Regions from separate parts of the Homo sapiens genome. Here region 1 is linked to region 2. Evidence: promoter capture Hi-C in 16 types of primary human blood cells and fetal thymus (Javierre and others, 2016). All regions are on one chromosome and are shown on one strand. The core of a region is centred on a gene start or on the middle of the fragment in contact, and the rest is flanking DNA. Distances in the headings are between cores, read along the strand shown.

Region 1 (2,700 bases), core at 6-2,505, 590 kb before region 2:
GGAGGCTGAGGAAGGAGAATTGCTTGAACCCGAGAGGCAGAGGTTGCAGTGAGCCGAGATCACAACACTGCACTCCAGCCTGGGCGACAGAGTGAGACTCCGTCTCAAAAAAAATAAATAAATAATTAAATGAAAAAAAATTTAAACATTAGTATAGCTCTTCTGAAAGCAATTCTTAACTTTTGACCCAGTAATTCCACTTTGGGAACTCTCTCTCAAGAAAATAATCTAAAATTTGGAAAACAGTTACAAGAACAAAGAAATTTACCAACATCTAAAAAATAAAACTTTCTAAATATTCAGCAATGGGAAAGCAGTTAAATAATTTGGAACACATAATTATTGAGAGTATTATGCATTCATTAAAAATGTGTTATGAAGATGACACAGCAACATGCCTATGAATGGAAAAAGAGAATGTGTTTACATGCTATGGTTATCACTATATTAATAAAAAGCATATGTAGGTAACAAATATGCCAAAATACCAACAGTTGGTAAGAATAATAATTTCTCTGTTTGTACTTTCAAAATTTTCTCCAACAGTTAAATTACATTTAGACTGAAAAAAAAAAAAACTTCAGAATTAAGGAATTCAATTAAATAATCTCTGGGATTTCCTTCAAGGTCTAATATTCTGTGGTTTTTCTCTGGAACTAGGAGTAGAGGTCAGGCAAGAGTAAAAATGTTAGAAAAGTTTAAATGGCAGGACCTATGCCTGCTTAAATTACTTTGATAACACTCAAAACAGCACATGAGAACATTGGAAAAGCAGCCCTTGGGGAAATGACGCAACCCCCTCCATCTGTGTGGCAGAAGTCTGGGAAGTAGGAGGCCTGAATTGAACCATATGATCTCTAAGGGTCCTCTCCAAACAACTTATCCATCCACGTGTTGAACAAACATTTGCCAAATGCCTACCATGTGTTAGGAACCACGTACCTGAATGACTACTGAACCAATGGTTCAGAGTCTAGTGAAGGAGAAATATTTTATTTTAGTTTGCTAGGAATGCCATAACACAATACCACAGACTGGGTGGCATAAACAAGAGAAATTTATTCCTCACAGTTCTGCAGGCTGGATATATGAAATCAGGGTGCCAGCACAGCTGGGTTCTGGCAAGGGTCCTCTTCCAGGTTGCAGACAGTGGACTTCTCCTCTTATCTTCAAGAGGTGGAAAGAGAATGAAAGAGCTCTCTAGGATCCCCCCTACTTTTTTTTTTTTTTTTTAGACAAAGTCTTGCTTTGTTGCCCATGCTGGAGTGCAATGGTATGATCTCAGCTCACTGCAACCTTTGCCTCCCGGGTTCAAGCAATTCTCCTGCCTCAGCCTTCCAAGTAGCTGGGACTACAGGCACGCGCCACCATGCCCTGCTCATTTTTGTATTTTTAGTAAAGACAGGGTTTCACTATGTTGGCCAGGCTGGTCTCAAACTCCTGACCTGTGATTCACCCACCTCGGCCTCCCAAATTGCTGAGATTATAGGCATGAGCCACCGCGCCCAGCCCAAATCTCCTTTTCTTATAAGGACACCAGGCAGACTGGTGTAGGGCCCACCATAACAGCCTGATTTTAATCACCTCTTTAAAGGTCCTATCTCCATATACAGTCATTCTGAGGTACTGGGGGTTATGGATTCAACATGTGAATTTCGGGAGACACAATTCAGTCCATAAAAGATTTCAAACAACAACATTACAGTGCAATAACAGAACTGCATTCAACAACAATGGGAACCATATGAAGGTATAATTCATGTTGACAGGAAATATCAGAAACTACCATAAAGGAAGTGTCATCTGAGCCAAGCTCTTACTTGAGAATCTCAAGTCTATAAACCATCATTCTTGATTGTCTTAGGAATTTTTTTTTTTTTTTTGAGACCGTGTCTCGCTCTGTCGCCCAGGATGGAGTACAATGGTACGATCTCAGCTCACTGCAACTTCCGCCTCCTGGGGTCAAGAGATTCTCCTGCCTCAGCCTCCCGAGTAGCTGGGACTACAGGCGCCCGCCACCACGCCCGCCTAATTTTTTGTATTTTTAGTAGAGACGGGGTTTCACCATGTTAGCCAGGATGGTCTTGACCTCCTGACCTCATGATCCGCCTGCCTCAGCCTCCCAAAGTGCTGGGATTCCAGGCATGAGCCACCGTGCCCAGCCTGTCATAGGAATATTTTAAGTATCAAAAAATGGAGATAAGATAGAATCGGAAAATAAAACAGGCTCGGATAAAGGCCAAAAGAAGAATGTATTTGTTCCAGAGGAACAAAGGTAAATACCATCGTTTAATAGTTGAACTGGGACTCTGGATTCAAATACAGCTACTTGGGGTGGGTGTGGTGGCTCATGCCTATAATCACAGCACTTTGGGAGGCCAAGACAGGCGGATCGCTTACGCCCATGAGCTCCAGACCAACCTGGGCAACTTGGCAAAACCCTATCTTTACAAAAAATACAAAAAACTAGCCAGGAGTGGTGGTGCATGCCTGAAGCCTCAGCTACCCAGGAGGCTGAGATGGGAGGACCAACCAAACCCAGGAGGTCAAGGCTGCAGTGAGCCGTGATTGCACCACTACACTCCAGCCTGGATGACAGAGTGAGACTCTGTCTCAAAAAACAAACAAACAAACAAAAAACCCAGCAACTTGGAGGTCAAGGGAAAATCTTGATTTAAGGAATAATCTCCTCCTCGCTCT
Region 2 (2,700 bases), core at 77-2,576:
ACAGGGTCTCGCTCTGTTGCCCAGGCTGGAGCGCAGTGGCGTGATCATGGCTCACTGCAGCCTCCACCTCCTGAGCTCAAGCAATCCTCCTGCCGCAGCCTCCCCAGTAGCTGGGACTACAGGCTGGAGCCACTATGCTTGGCTCCCCTGTCCCACTTTCTTTCTTTCTTTTTTTTTGTTTTGAGATGGAGTCTCACTCTGTAGCCCAGGCTGTAGTGCAGTAGTGCAATCCCGGCTCACTGCAACCTCCGCCTCCTGGGTTCAAGCAATTCTCCTGCCTCAGCCTCCCGAGTACCTGGGATTACAGGCCTGTGCCACCACGCCCGTCTAATTTTTGTATTTTTAGTAGAGATGGGGTTTCACCATGTTGGCCAGGCTGGTCTTGAACTCCTGACCTGCCTCAAGCGACCTGCCTGCTTCGGCCTCCCAAAGTGTTGGGATTACAGGCATGAGCCACCGCACCCGCCACCTGCCCCACTTTCAAGTTATTTTCCTTCACTCCTTCATTCATTCCACAAATGGTTACTGAGCCCCTGTCATGTGCTAGGCCCTGATCTGGGCCAAAAACCTTCTCCTTGGGGCACTAATGTCTCTCTTGCGCTCACACCTTATTCAGGTTTTTGTGTAAACATGTGAAGTCACTGTGTCCAGCGCTTCCTGCTCCTGTGGCCACTACCAACAATTAATTTCATGCATGTCCCCCTCCCCCCTTCCCGTGCCCCAGGGAGCGAGTGGGGAACCGGGAACGCGCCAAGGGGCCCGCGAGGCAGGGAAGGGGAGAGGGGGCGCGAGGGCGGGAGGGGCGCGAGGGGGAGGAGAGGGGATGCCTGGGTTAGGGAGTCCGGCTAAGAGGGAGGAGGACGGAAAGGCAGGAGGGACCGTGTTCGTGCAGCTAGTTCACGGTTACCACAGCCTCCAATGGAGTCAGATTCAGTCAAGAAGACGCCCAAAGACACTGTGAGAAAGTGGCCAGAGGAACCGCCAAGCTCGCGCTGCTTTTCTTACCCTGTCTCACAAAGACCAATGAACTTCAAGCATCGCCTCTCTCAGCCGAGGCAGACGACCAATGCGGTTTGAGATCCTGAACTGATGTCCCGCCCCTTCCCTTCTGCCAGCTTCTTGGCGCACAAGACTATCAGTCCCACCAATAGCGCTTCGAGTTGAGCCTCGCGCCACCGCTGCCTCTCCCTCCGCACGTCCTGCCCGCCCAGACTGTCTTCCCCCTTTCGAGGCAGGTGGCCAATGGGGCGTCGAGTACCCCTTATTGGACCGAGGCTGGCCCCGCCCCCCAGGAACGGCCCGCCTGGCCCCGCCCCTGGGGCGTTGACCAAGCCCGGTCTGTGCACGGGTTGCCTCGTTTCTGGCCTTCCCTTGCCTTGTACCTCGACTTCGCGCGTGGCTTGTTTTTGCTGAGTGGAGGCCTGCGTTTTCTGTTATGTCTCTTCCGGTGCCCCACAACTCCTGAGCTACCCTTCTTTTATGCGTTCTCTCCCAGCGCTGTGATTACCGGGTTGCTTACCGGGCCCTCCTTCCTCAGATTGCACCCCTTTCCTTGTGTCTCTTCTTGTCTTTGTGTCGGTTGTGATTTTCCTAATCTCTGATTTTCCTTTTCTCTCGGACGCTCTCCCTCTTCGGACCCATTTTCTCCCGTGCTTCATGCCCTGATAGCCTGGCCCCTTCCCGGCTTCCTTCGCTACCGGGGACGCCTCTAGTTTTTCTGAATTTCTGGCTGGCTCCACCCTCCGCGTTCATCTTCCTCAAGAGTTCGCCCCTCTGGGGGCTCCTCTGTGTAATCGTCGCCTTCTCTGGGTATTTCTGTGAACTCCGTCTCACACCATCCCGCCATCTTCTCTGCCTTGGCCCCTTTTCTCTGTACAGCCAGCTCTGTGTCCTTTTCTTCTCCCCCTCTAAAATCGACTCCTCTTCTCCCTGAGAGCCCCACCTTTGTGCCCCACTCCTCATTTTCCTACGCCTCCCTCTCTCTGCTGGTCCTCTCTCTCCCTGCAAGGTTCCATTCCATCAATTTGTTTGTCTTTTGTAGGGGTGGCATCCCCTCTGACTACTGCTCCATCCTTTTTTTTTTTTTTTTTTTTTTTTTTTTTGCTTGAGGATTTCACTTCAATCTTTTCTGGTTGCGTCTCCACTTGTACTCAGCTTGTTAGGTCCAGGTCCAGTTGTTCTGCATCTGAGGCTGGCGTGTGCTGTCTTCTCTGATTGGCCTAATCTCCCTCACCCCCGTGAGATCTGTTGTCAGCCTTCGTTTCTCTTTCCTGTGTCCCAGCTTTTCTGCGGGTCTTGGCACCTTTCTTGGCCACAGATTTCTGGGTTACAGAGCATGTGTGTCTGAGGCATTGCAGGCAGAAAAGGGTGGCCGACGTGACCTCTAGCTGGACTGCTGGGCAGGGGAGCTGTCCTAGATAAAATTGGAAAGGTTGGGTGGCGCTTATCTGGGGTGGGGTGGGGTGTGGTCGGGGGAGGCTTAAAGGCCAGCTAAAGAGGTTGAACTTGATCCTTTAGGTAGTGGAGAGAGAGTGAGAGGAAGTGTGTGTGGGAGGGAGGGATAGTGGTAGAGGAACAGGGTAACCAACGATTATAAAGAGCTTAGCATTTGCCTAATACTTATGGTAATAATTTTATTGATCTTCACAATGACCCTATGAGATGTATTATACTTCATTTTATAAAGAAGGTAGTAGGCTC

Evidence for each region. Contacts are between HindIII fragments. The CHiCAGO score rates a contact against its expected background, and 5 or more counts as called.
Region 1: a fragment that was not itself captured here is called in contact with the fragment with the promoter of LYPD4 in region 2 in 1 of 17 cell types (total B cells); the score reaches 5.9 in total B cells.

Annotation. Positions count from the first base shown.
Region 1 is chr19:42,434,362-42,437,061 of GRCh38, reverse strand. The region is part of intron 1 of CXCL17 (C-X-C motif chemokine ligand 17); the gene reads left to right. The region is part of intron 1 of LIPE-AS1 (LIPE antisense RNA 1); the gene reads right to left. Among named protein-coding and RNA genes, the nearest start is that of CXCL17, 7.2 kb to the left of the region's middle. The HindIII fragment of the contact is 3,149 bases long and covers 1-2,700 here.
Region 2 is chr19:41,843,309-41,846,008 of GRCh38, reverse strand. It overlaps LYPD4 (LY6/PLAUR domain containing 4), which reads left to right and starts at 1,326. Exons shown (of 5, transcript NM_173506.7): 1 at 1,326-2,431. DMRTC2 (DMRT like family C2) reads right to left here and starts at 967. Exons shown (of 9, transcript NM_001040283.3): 1 at 908-967. The HindIII fragment of the contact is 15,469 bases long and covers 1-2,700 here.